Regions from separate parts of the Homo sapiens genome. Here region 2 is linked to region 1. The links are contacts of gene promoters, found by promoter capture Hi-C in blood cells and fetal thymus (Javierre and others, 2016). All regions are on one chromosome and are shown on one strand. Each heading gives the region's core, a stretch centred on a gene start or on the middle of the fragment in contact. The rest is flanking DNA. Distances are from core to core; before and after follow the strand shown. Region 1 holds the start of SUPV3L1 (Suv3 like RNA helicase). Region 2 overlaps KIFBP (kinesin family binding protein).

The links. Contacts are between HindIII fragments. The CHiCAGO score rates a contact against its expected background, and 5 or more counts as called.
Region 2: a contact is called between a fragment that was not itself captured here and the fragment with the promoter of SUPV3L1 in region 1, in 1 of 17 cell types (naive CD8 T cells). The highest score is 5.4, in naive CD8 T cells.

The regions. Positions count from the first base shown.
Region 1 is chr10:69,175,913-69,182,511 of GRCh38, forward strand. It overlaps SUPV3L1 (Suv3 like RNA helicase), which reads left to right and starts at 4,322. Exons shown (of 15, transcript NM_003171.5): 1 at 4,322-4,650. The coding sequence starts at 4,380. RefSeq lists an enhancer at 4,037-4,406. The HindIII fragment of the contact is 6,235 bases long and covers 1-6,059 here.
Region 2 is chr10:69,005,024-69,011,622 of GRCh38, forward strand. KIFBP (kinesin family binding protein) reads left to right here. Exons shown (of 7, transcript NM_015634.4): 3 at 23-102; 4 at 709-892; 5 at 3,818-3,902; 6 at 5,877-5,992. Among named protein-coding and RNA genes, the nearest start is that of KIFBP, 20 kb to the left of the region's middle. The HindIII fragment of the contact is 4,484 bases long and covers 896-5,379 here.

The DNA.
Region 1 (6,599 bases), core at 3,072-5,571:
TCTTGGCCTCCCAAAGTGCTGGGATTACAGGCGTGAGCCACCGTGCCCGGCCAAGAGTAAATCTTAAAAGTTCACTTAGGATAAGCAACAGTTTAGCGTCTAGATCATGATAACCTTAATGTCAGAAAAATACTAGAAACTTCAACTTACAAAATTTGGTAGACAAGGTATGAGAGAGTAATCTACAGGATGTGCTTTTGTGAAACCTACACCAGATTTTGTTAATAGCAAAAGCAGGCCGGGCGCGGTGGCTCACGCCTGTAATCCCAGCACTTTGGGAGGCCGAGGCGGGTGGATCATGAGGTCAGGAGATCGAGACCATCCTGGCTAACACGGTGAAACCCCGTCTCTACTAAAAATACAAAAAAAATTAGCCGGACGTGGTGGCGGGCGCCTGTAGTCCCAGCTACTCGGGAGGCTGAGGCAGGAGAATGGCATGAACCCAGGGGGCAGAGCTTGCAGTGAGCCGAGATTGCGCCACTGCACTCCCGCCTGGTGACAGAGCAAGACTCCGTCTCAAAAAAAAAAACAAAAAACAAAAAACAAAAAACAGCAAAAGCAAAGGCGAAGAAGAAATTAACTTGTATTATTTCTGCCACCTAGGTTATCTTCTCCCACTTCCTTTCCCCTTCTATTTATTTCCGTATTCATGCATGGATTTAGCATATTTACAGACTATCAGTTAGTGCTTGCTATGGTTTGAATGTGTCCCCTAAATTTTTTGTGTTGGAACTTAATCATCAAATTCATATATTGATTGGAGGTGAGGCCTTTGGGAAGTAATTAGGATTAGATAAAAGTTCTCAGTGTGGGTCCCCCATGATGTGACTGGTGGCTTCGTAAGAAAAGAGAAACCTGAGTTGACACACAGGTCTTGCTCTCTGGCCATGTGATGCCTTCTACCAGGTTATGTCAAGAGGGCCATCACCAGATGCCAGCCTCTTGATCTTGGACTTCCTAGCCTCCAGAACTAAAAGAAATAAATTCATTTTCTTTACAAATTACTCAGTCTGTGGTGTTCTGTTATAGCAATGCAAAATGGAGTAAGTGTTATCTTGGCCCTATCCTGAAGGAACTTTAATCCAGAGCAGTGGTTCTCAAAAGTGTGGTCTCAGACCAGCAGAGTTGCATCATCTGAAATGTTTTAGAAATGTAAACTCTCAGATCCCACTCCAGATCTACTGAATCAGAAACTTCAGGGATGGGGCCCAACAATCTTGTTGCACTCTAACGTTTAAGAACCACTGACCCAGAGACACAATTACGATAGTTTTCATTCTATGATAGAGCCTCTACTGGGACCTGTGATATGTAAGAGAAGCACCCAGTGTGTTCAGAGGTGCAGAGGTAAGAAACGATGATATAACTGGTGTATAGTTCCAGCATGAATAGAATGGTAGATGTGGGGAGTAGAAATAAAGCTGGAAGAGGCATATAGGGCCAACCAATTTAGGACAGAACCTGGATGCCATACGATGGAATATGGGCTTTATCTGAACATTTATTCAGAATCACCAAAGGACTCTAAGCAGGAGTAACTTACCAGATTTGTGTTTTCAAAAGATCATTATGGTGCTACGGCAAAGTATAGGAGGATACCAGTTACATAGTTACTGCATTAATCCATTCAACAAGCAAAATAAAACATTTATAGAGGCTCTAATATGTGTTAGGTGCTGATTACACTTACTGCTATAAATATGACATAACCAGTATAGATATGACATCTTTTTTTGTAAAAGCAAAAATTTTATATTGAATTTTCCCATTTCAATGTTTATAGTAGAACTTAATGAATGGCTGAAAGGGAAAGCCTGTATGTGCTATCATAAAATTCAGATTGCATTTTCTACCTGCAAGGAGGTGCAAACAAAATTACAGTTAAAATAGTTTTGAGGATTTTTTTTTTCTGTAAAACTATACTAGGGTTGGGCTAGATCTGTAAGACTAGTAACTGCCAGGTGCTGTGGCATGCACCTGTAGTTCCAGTTACTCAGGAGGCTGACACAGGATTGCTTGAGCCCAGGAGTTCACGATCACCCTTCCAAAGAAAAAAAAAGACTCGTACAAATGTTGATTCTGGCCTAATATGCTGCTCCTGTCCAAAAAGCCCACCTATTTGCTTTGAAATCAGAAAGACTGGCTGGGCACGGTGGCTCACACCTGTAATCCCAGCACTTTGGGAGGCCGAGGCAGCTGGATCACTTGAGGCCAGGAGTTCTGAGACCAGCCTGGCCAACATGGTGAAACTAAAGAGAATACAAAAATTAGCCAGGTATTGTGGTGCAAGCCTGTAGTCCCAGCTACTCGGGAGGCTGAGGCATGAGAATTGCTTGAGCCTGGGAGGTGGACGTTGCAGTGAGTTATGATTGCACCACTGCACTTCAGCCTGGGCAACAGAGTGAGACTGTCTCAAAAAAAAGAAAAAAAAAAGATTTAGATTTGTATCTGACTCTACCACTTACTGGGGCAAGTTAGTTAACCTGGTGACAATAATACCTCTAAATTGTTGTCAAGCATATTAAAAGATTAAAAGGAACAACATAGTGCTTGCCTCAGTTACGTATTAAACGTTTGGTTTATCCTTCATTCTCCTAGTTTCCAAATCTGACGAGACATCATTGTTTATTAACATTTTCTAGCATATTTAGTCACTCACTACATTATCTAAGGAGTCTTGTAAAACCTCTCATTCCACATACATGGTCTCCATCATAACTCAGACACAGGAATCTACCACCTTCAGCTAGAACTGTTGATAAAGTTGTAATTTTCCTCCCTGCATATTTGTGTTTATCCTAGTCTATCCTAGGTACTTCCTAATGAATGATTTCTCTTCTCAAAAATATAATCACTATTTGTAAGCCATAGAATTAGGTCTGCGTTAACTCTGTTACTTAAATTTTTTTCAGTATGTCTTTTCCTTAGTTAAGCCTCTGCTTACATCGTTTCCACTGACTAGAATTTACTTACCGCTTCTCTATGTTTTACTTTTAAGTCTGGCAGAAATCTCCTTACCACTCTCAAATTGCTCCTTTCTTTGAACTGCCATTAGTCTATTAGAGTAATAAGTGCATTATTTAACGTGTACTGTTCTTACCACCAAAACCAGATCAGAACCTTTGAAAGCAAAGGACTGTCTCCTTGTATCCCTGATGTTTAAAAATTATTTTGTGAATCAAAGGCACGTGGCAAATTGTTACTGGAATCCTATTAGACATACAGTATTGTATATTACATAACACGTTCCTTCAAGTTGTAAGATCTTAATGATGTAAGTATAAAGAGATGTGGATGGAGATGCTAAACTTGTGAATTTTTTTTTTTTTTAGACGGAGTCTCACTCTGTTGCCCAGGCTGGAGAGCAGTGGCCCGATCTCGGCTCACTGCAACCTCTGGCACCCAGGTTCAAACGATTCTCCTGCCTCCGCCTCCCTAGTAATTGGGATTACAGGTGTGCACCACCACGCCCGGCTGATTCTTGTATTTTTAGTAGAGAGGGGATTTCACCATGTTTGCCAGGCTGGTCTCGAACTCCTGACCTCAGATGATCCACCGGCCTCGCCCTCCCTAAGTGCTGCGATTACAGGCGTGAACCACCACGCCCGGGTTAAACTTGTGAATTTAACATGTTGCAGCCTCACATGAGAACACGGTATTCAACAAATGCAATGGAACGAAACTATGGCTGGGGTACAGAGCACGTATTTTTGCCATGTGGTCACAACTATGTGGTCATAGCTGCTAGGATGATGTACGCAAACTGCTCACATTAAAGCAAAAGTACTTACGTAATACAAGGGGTTTAATAGTGCAACAATATTTCTTAGCAACATTTCTGAGGGGCATATCAAGTTATTATCGCTAACGTTATCATATCAGGAAATGACGGTTAACAATGCAAGAAACTTTTGGGAAATGCTATTTAGTGTTTGAGTCCGCAAGACATACTCGTACCCTGAGCATTCGCAGTTGCTGCTCCACCACCCATTCTCTCACTGCTCACCCACGTGCTTCTGGACACTTGCTTACCAAAGTACTAGTTTGCATCACGTGACACGACTAGCAGGCCCCCTCCGCTCATGTATGACATCCCAAAGATGCCTGATTATTTTCCCTTCTTTAGGGAAAGGTGGTCCCAATCACCAACAAAACAGAGAAAGAGAACGAGAATTATCTCTAGTGGTTTTGCCTGCTAATCTTCTTTTTCCCTGAAAGAACACCCTCACGGCACGGCGTTTTCCTTAACGGTCAGGCGTTTTCCCGGGCAGCTTACCTGCTCGGCCTGGGTCTTTCTGGACAGCAGGCGCTGGAGGTGCGCGTCACTGTCCGCCGCCGTGTCCGCGGCTGCGCCAGACAGTGTAGAACCTGCGGCCTCGATGTCCTTCTCCCGTGCCCTATTGTGGGCTCGGCTCCCGGCGGGGCGCCAGGCTGGCCACCGGGCAGCCATCTGCTCTGCCCTTCGTCCCCACTTTGGGCCCTTTCCCGGGGTTCTGGGGCAAGTTTCTGTCCTTGCCACCGCCTCCTCCTCTGCCTCCGGTGGCTCCAAAATACCAAACACGTCCTTGTTCGTGCCCCTGACTGTGAAACCTCAGGGCCCCAGCGCCGACGGCGACGTCGGGGCCGAGCTAACCCGGCCTCTGGACAAGAGTGAGTGCGGGAACTACTGAGGGCGGCAGAGGGTGGTGTCTGCTGGGCCGAGGCTGGTTGGGAGGAAGCTACATCCCCTTCCCCTGGGGATCCGAGGTCCCATCGAGTGTTGTCATCGTGCCTCTCAGTGTCTGCCTCCTTCGCTGGTGTGTGAGCCCCTCAAACGGCTTAGGACTGTATCTGATTAATTCTTAACGCCTCGTCCCAGAAGCGGCCTTTTCCCTTTTACTGCCCTGCTCTCTGAATGGTTTAGACACTCATGTGTTGGGAAGATTTGACTTTTTTGAGTTGTTAGGTGGACGCCCGCTCTTTCTTGCATTCTTTGTTTCTCTCCCACCCCCGAATGGGATGTGGCAGTGAAAAGCCAGCGGAGACTCCTTTTAGGATTCTTTATCATTGAGGAGGCGCCGACTCATACCACGCTGTTAGGCTGTGTGGTGGTTGCCAAGAGGAACCAGACTCAGATCCAGATCCCCTCTTAAGAAACGTAACGGTATCGTGGGGGAGGACACGTGTATGGAAAGTGAACTGTAATACAAGGTAGAACATGACAAGGTCTAGAACAAGGTAGGGTGTCCCCGGCTCCAGAGAGAAAAGAAGAGGTAGCATCAGTTAGTGGCAGCGGGCTTTGCTCAGCAAAACTTAAGTTTGGATGGATTCGTTGACAGAGAGGCATGTGAATGTTTTCAAGGTGAGTTTCGGGATGATTAGGGAGGTAAGGGAGTTTCCTCTGACCATATGAAACTGGGAGATTGAGGAAATGCTATCCAGAATTGTCTCCAGGAATAGGAGGAGAAATGTCTCACTTCAACAAGCGACATTGGTGCCTCCTATTGTAAATCTAAAATATAGACTACAATATGTTTTTCAGAGCAGAAGTACAGTACTTTCACTAAACATGTGATGGAACTCACAGTATATGTTATTCTTTGACATATTCTTCCAGTGTTAAGCAAGGCCTTTCACTTTACTTGGTGCTGGGAGACTGTCTTTATTTTCTGCTGTTATAACATAATACCTGAGACTGAGTAATTTATAAACAATAGAGGTGTATTTGACTCATGGTTCTGAGCCGGGATCTGATGAGGGCCTTTGGCTGCATCATCACATGGTGGAAGGTGGAAAGGCAAATGAGCCTGTGAGACAGAGAAAGGGGGCTGAACTTATCCTTTTTTCCTGTGATAACTGACTCCTGTGATAATGGCATTAATCCACTCACAAAGGCAAACTCCTCATGTCCTAATCACCTCTTAAAGGTTCCACCTCTCAACTGTTAAAATAGCAATTAAATTTCAATATGAGTCTTGGAGAAGACATTCAAACCATAGCAGAGAATGTGTTATTTTAATAATGTAATTATACTATTATTTATTTTTAAATTATAAAAATACATAAAATTTACTCTTTTAAGCTTTTTTTTAGTTTTTTTTTCTTTACTTTTTTTTTTTTAGAGACAGGGTCTTGCTCTGTTACCCAAGCTGGAGTATAGTGGTATGATCATAGCTCACTGTAACCTCCAACTCCCAGACTCAAGCAATCCTCCTGGCTCAGCCTTCTAAGTAGCTAGGAATACAGGCGTGCATCACCATGCCTGGATAATTTTTTAATTTTTTGTAGAGATGGGGTCTTGCTATGTTGCCCAGGCTGGTCTCAAACTTCTGGGCTCCAGGGATCCTCCTGCCATGGCCTCCCAAAGCCCTGAGATTACAGACCTGAGCCACTGCACCCAGCCAGTCTTAATTGTTTTTAAGCACATAGTTCACTAGCGTTAAGTATATTGACATTGTCGCGAAATAGATGAGAACTTTTTCATCTTGCAGAGTTGAAACTCAAACAATAGTTTACCCATTAAAGAACAATTTTCCATTATTTTATATTATTTGAAGGCATAAGGTAATTTGGATGAGATAATTTGCCTTATTGTATTCAAATATTGATAAATTCTTATT
Region 2 (6,599 bases), core at 1,888-4,387, 170 kb before region 1:
CTTTTGTTTTTCTTAATTGTAGGTTGGGAGTCCTCCTCTTGATCCTACTGAGCGTTTTCTTCCTGAAGAAGAGAAACTTACTGAACAAGAGAGATCAAAAAGGTGAGTAGGTATAGAAATCAGCCCTTGCAAATATTTCCACATATCATAGATTAGTGATTGTTCAAAAAGTCACTTATAAAGGTTATAGAATGTGGATTCTGACAGGAGTAAAACCTCCATTTACCACTTACTTGTTATTTGACCTTGTTCAAACCTGAGACTCAGTTTCCTTATCTGTCAAATAGATACAATAAACAAATCCAACTCAAAGGGTTGGTGGGATAATCAAAATAAATATATATGAAATTTACTTATAAAACGTAAACCATGGTCCGGACACGGTGGCTTACACCTGTAATCCCAGCACTTTGGGAGGCTGAGGCGGGTGGATCACAAGGTCAGGAGTTCAAGACTGGCCTGACTATTATGGTGAAACCCCGTCTCTACCAAAAATACAAAAATTAGCCAGGCATGGTGGCAGGCGCCTGTAATCCCAGCTACTCGGGAGGCTGAGGCAGGAGAATTGCTTGAACCCAGGAGGCGGAGGCAGTGAGCCAAGATCGTGCCACTGTACTCCAGCCTGGGCAACAGAGCGAGACTCTGTCTCAGGAAAAAAAAAAAACAAGTAAACCATTACACAAATATTGGTTTATTTTTTCTTTACAGATTTGAAAAGGTTTATACTCATAACCTATATTACCTAGCTCAAGTCTACCAGCATCTGGAAATGTTTGAGAAGGCTGCTCACTATTGCCATAGTACACTAAAACGCCAGCTTGAGCACAATGCCTACCATCCTATAGAGTGGGCTATCAATGCTGCTACCTTGTCACAGTTTTACATCAATAAGGTAAGCTTCTTGAAGTAGTTATCTAACAGAGTACCAATAGTGAGTATAAAAATAGAACCAGTAGTACCTTGAAAATACTATCTTTTAAAAACAGGTAGCTTGTATTTTATGATGTACAACTGAAGCCGAAAATGCAGCCCAGTTTGCCCGTGTACTAAAATTTTGTAGCTTTTTGTTGTATGAATTATTTTGAGTTTTAAAATACCGAGTTTTATCATTGTTTTACATGTTACCTAAGACCAATTCTTTTTTTAACATAGGCACGCTATCTCAACTCATTTTAGTGAGATATTACCTTAAATTGCAGATTTTACCTTGTAGATATAGCTTTATCTTTACGTAATGGTAATCTCATAACTCTGAGAATTTGACTGAGGAAGTTGACTGTTAAATGTGGGCTTTGATAAAAGCATGTGATGCATTTCAGTTATTTTTCAGAATTAACTCTGTAATAATTTTTTAATGTTGGAAATATGTCTGCTGAGTTCCAAAGTTCTAGGTCTTTATACCATACTTCTTTTGGATTGTTACACAGGGACAATGTTTTTGAGCTTCTTAGTTGTTTATCAGAATTTCTCATAAAAATTTAAAAAAGCATTGCTCACATCATGTTGGTGTACTCTTAATTGACCCATTTATTCCTTTAATCCTTGAGAGTTTTTAATGCTAAAATAATTTTACACCACCTTTTCTAACCAGATTTTCCTATTAATCCTTAATAAGACATCTCAGCAATATAAATTACTTTTATTTATATTTCGAATTCGCAAGCCTCTCTGAAATTTTGGTAGTTCTCTGCTTATCAGAGTTCCTTCTTTCATCTCTCTGGTAACCCGCTGCCTTATCCTTGGGCCTTTATCCTTTTTGAGCATTTCGTTAGCGTTGGTTCTGTAAATGCGCCCGATGATTAAAGTATTGTCCCACAGAATTTCATTCAGAAAAGCTATTAGCAGGAGAGAAAGGGCTGTGGTGACTGCAGCATCGCTTCTAGGACTTTGGTCTAAGATCAAGTGTGTAAGTAACGCTACTGCATATATCAGAGCATTCAGTTAACTAATTCTCATGAATCCATTTCATTGTCCTCATCCAAAGTGTTATCCAGTGCCTCCGCTTGTGACATCTTTTTTACAGCTGTTGGAGGCCCCTTATTCATTCTGTTTAGCAACTTTAAAATTACATATTCACTGTGACTTTAATTTATACTTAAAACTCCATGGAAATTGGCAGTACTAAGATATCTAGATATTAAAGTGTGATTAAAATTTAAAGTTGTTAAGCATTACTTATGTGGAGCATGCAGTAATTTTCATGAGACCTCCCACACCCTGCACTTTTATTTTTTTACCAAAATCTTTTTTAAGTTTTTGTTAAAACCAACTAAGTCGTATTGCAAAAAGAGGGATTTGAACCATGTTTTTAAAAATGCAATTGTCATTTATATCATTGTCATCTTCATCTGATTCCAGTGATGAGGTTTTGCTACTTGGTGAATCCCTACCTGGCAGCTGCTAAAGTCCCACATTTACCAGCCACCTAGAGGGCATAAGACACTCACTGTTCTAGCAGTGGTTGCTCACAGGGAGCCAATCTGGACAAAGCTGAAATGACGATAAATGTTAAGGGATTGGATTATAGAGAGATAATTAAAGTTTCATTATATAAACTCTAACTTTCTTTTGGCTTTTAAGATTTAACACATTTTTATCTATAGATGTTGCTGGGCTAATACTACACGTGTCCAGCTATTCTCAAGATGGCTTCTGAATTTGCCATAATGGAAAGATACATTTAATGCTGCAATTTTAAAGTTATAGCCAACCATTTAAAGCCTTTCAGGTATTACTAATATTAAGTAGACATTCTATTTAATGAGGGTGGCTTCCAACTAAAAGTTGGACTTTAACTTTGAACTTCTGCTGGGTGGTCCTTTGACTTACATGACAAATACAAAATGTTTCTATTAACAAGGAGATCTTCTCTAATTGTTTGAGAAGTTTGCCATGCCCGGAATTGAATTATGAAGTCTTCAAGAGTGTTGGTAAAGCAGTTCCATAAGGTTCATCTGTAGAAGTCTGTTGACTTTAAAACTTGGTGGGAAGCCTTATTGTATGTAAAGTTTAAAGATTTTAGAACACAGGAATATCTTCTTACCTGAGTTTATCCTATTTGCCTTTGTATAGTAGGATGTAAAGGGGCTCTCTAAACCTAATAAAAATTAAATCCTCAGGCTGGGCAAGGTGGCTTACATCTATAACCCCAGCACCCTGGGAGGCCAAGGTGGGAGCATTGCTTCAGGCCAGGAGTTGGAGACCTGTTTAGGCAACATAGAGAAACCCCAGAATTAGTCAGGCTTGGAGGCTAAAGGTGGGAGGATCCCTTAAGACCAGGAGGTTGAGGCTGCAGTGAACTATGATTGTGCCACTGCACTCCAGCCTTGGGCCAGAGTGAGACCCCTGTCTCGTAAAAAAAAAAAAAAATATATATATATATATATATATATATATTCAGTCTTCTGACACAATGTAAATAGTCTAAGAATTTATTGTGCATGGGATTTTGGCTACTTAGACTGAACCTAAAGGAGTTTTTGAGACAGTTTAAGTCTAGGATGACAGCCATTCCTGTATATCTATTGATTGTATAAGGAGAGCTAACTTTCAGTTGGCAGTTGTCTTTCAATCCGAGTGGATTATTATTAAGAGTTTGGGGGCATTAATATTTTAACCTTTGAGGTTACATTTTAACCAGATAATATGATAATATATCTTTTGTACCTTCTGAATGATCTGCAACTCTACAGGGCCTCCTTTGTAGTATTTTTATCTGATTTTATACCTTTTCCCATATTAAAAGAAATTATGCAAGTATCAGTTGCAAATAAAGCTGTGTGATAGTTGCATTCACTGTTGTTTATTTCCCCAATAGCTATGCTTTATGGAGGCCAGGCACTGTTTATCAGCTGCTAATGTCATTTTTGGTCAAACTGGAAAGATCTCAGCCACAGAAGACAGTAAGTTTACCTTTGCATGTTTTACATAGCTTTTAAAAAAAGTTTTATTTTGAAATTATTTTAAACTTTTGAAAAGTTGCAAGAACAGAAGAGCTATCATATGCCCTTCTAAATGCACCAATTTTTAGTATTTTCCTCGCTTGGAATCAAATTTTATTTTTCTCTCTGAACCATTGGAGAGAAGGTTACATACATTAGGCTCTTTTACCCTTTCATACTTTAGTATATATTTCCTAAGAAGAATATTTTCTTACATAATCATAGATCATTTATCAAATTCAAGAAATGTAACATTGGCCAGGCATGGTGGCCCACGCCTGTAATGCTAGATTTTGGGAGGCCAAGATGGGAGGGGCCAGGAGTTCAAGACAAGCCTGATCAACATAGTGAGACCCCATCTCTATGTTTTTAAAGAAATTAAAAAAAAAAAAGTAACATTGATACAATTCTTTTATCTACACTGCATATTTCTATTTCATCAGTTGTTGCCATAATATTCCTTCTAGCATTTGTTTGCCAGTACTGGATTATACAGTTCAAGATTGCATAATGCATTCAGTTGTCACATCTCTTCAGGCATTTTTCGTCTGGAATTGTTCCTCAGCCTTTCTTTCCCTTTCATCACTTAATATTAAGAATATAGGCCAGTTATTTCATAGAATTACTGCCAGCTGGGGTTTGTGTGATGTTTCCTTATGCCATGATTCAGATGATATATTTTTGGTTGGAATACTACATGCATAAGCGATGTTGCCAAATACCCATCTTTTTAAGTATAGTGTTTCCTTTAGTCTTAGAAAATCACAGTTAACATGTGTCTTTGAGTCATTTAACAGGTTTTTTAATAAGTTCATCATTTTCTTTAAAAATAGTTTATTTTTAAAAATAGTTTGATTCTATTGCTCACTGTTGAACAGTTTCCAACCTTCTTACGATGTTTTAGATTTTGAAACATCATGTCTTCCTTACAAATGGACATTCTAATTGTGGATCTGAAAAATGCAGAGACTCTTAAGAGCTAAAGGAATGTACATTATCAAAGTAAATAGTTGCTTTCTCCCCTAATATATTAACTACATTAATTATAGATTAGTTGAAGTCTAAGAGGCACTTGTCTCAAAAAATGAATAAAAACTAAATTGCTGAGATATTATTTAATAATTCACTTTATTTAAAGTAATATCGTGAGATATTATTTTGTTTTTACTCTTCATAATAGCTGAAAAAATGACAGTGACCAGTGTTTTCAAAATGTTCTTATTGAGCATTCTCATATATTGTTGGTTGGCATATTTGTTGAAAATAATTTGGCTGTATGTTGTGAATTATTTAAAATTGTGTAAACTCTTTTACTCAGTAAATTCCACTTCTAGGAATCTGCCCTAAGGAAGAAATCCAAAATCCAGACAGATTTTTGCACAATTATACTCATGTTTCAAGTTTAAAAAAAATGTGTGTATGTGTATAAACTTTACAAAGCTTTGTGTTGACAGCTGACTTTGTAGATTACAGCAAGAAAGCTGCTCTGCTATGTATGACACTCTGACCCAGAAGCAGGTCATCTGAATAGTTTAGCACCAGGTTCTCCACAACCATCTGTTGTGTGACATAGACGTTTTTGTGATAGTAAAGAATTGGAAACAACAAATTCCAGGTTAGAATTAGAAGAATGGTTAAATAATAGAATATCTATTTAATTGTATATAATGGTGTACTTAAAAATGAAGCTAAGAGTTGATAATGATATGAGTAAAGTGTTTGTGGTGCGAGAAAGAAATATGCAAAAATAATAGTGAGTGCTTCTGGGTAGTAGGATTTGGGGGGGGATCTTTCTTCCCTTTTCCCCAAGCCCCCTGCTTCAGTAAAGATCTGTTACTTTTATAGTCAGGAAAAAGTGATATTAAAAAAATTACAGTACCCAATGAAAATTACAGTTGTGACCATTAACTTAAACAAATCACATGTATATTTTAGCTCCTGAAGCTGAAGGAGAAGTGCCAGAGCTTTATCATCAAAGAAAGGGGGAAATAGCAAGGTGCTGGATCAAATACTGTTTGACTCTCATGCAGAATGCCCAACTCTCCATGCAGGTAATGCAGTCAGAAGCTGCCTTTTTCTTTCTTAAATGAGGAAATTGTAAGTAAAAACTCATAGTGGGGATTGTGCTCATTGGGGTCACATTGTGTTTAATATGAAAGGTGTGTAGAATGTTTTCGTAAATATTTCTTTCTTGGTTTTAAATCGTATTCTTCGAATTGCTTGAATCCGGGAGGCAGAGGCTGCGTGAGCCGAGATTGGACCACTGCACTCCAGCCTGGGCAACAGAGCGAGACTCCATCTCTAAATAAATAAATAAATAAAATAAATCTTACTCATCATTCAAGGCCTATCTTAAATACTACCTCTTCCTTGAAGACTTTTCTTTGGTTAGAATATAAGCTTCTTGAGAGCTGGGAACGATATCATATTCTTTTTTTTTTTTTTTTTAGACAGGCTCTCGCTCTGTTTCCCAGGCTGGAGTGTGGTGGCGTGATCATGGGTCACTGCAACCTTGGTCTCCCCGGCTCATGCAGTCCTCCCACCTCATCCTTGGAGTACAGGCGTGTGCCACCATATCCAGTTAATTTTTAAATTATTTTGTAGAGACTGGCTCTCACTGTGTTGCCAAGGCTGGTCTTGAACTCCTGGGCTCAAGTG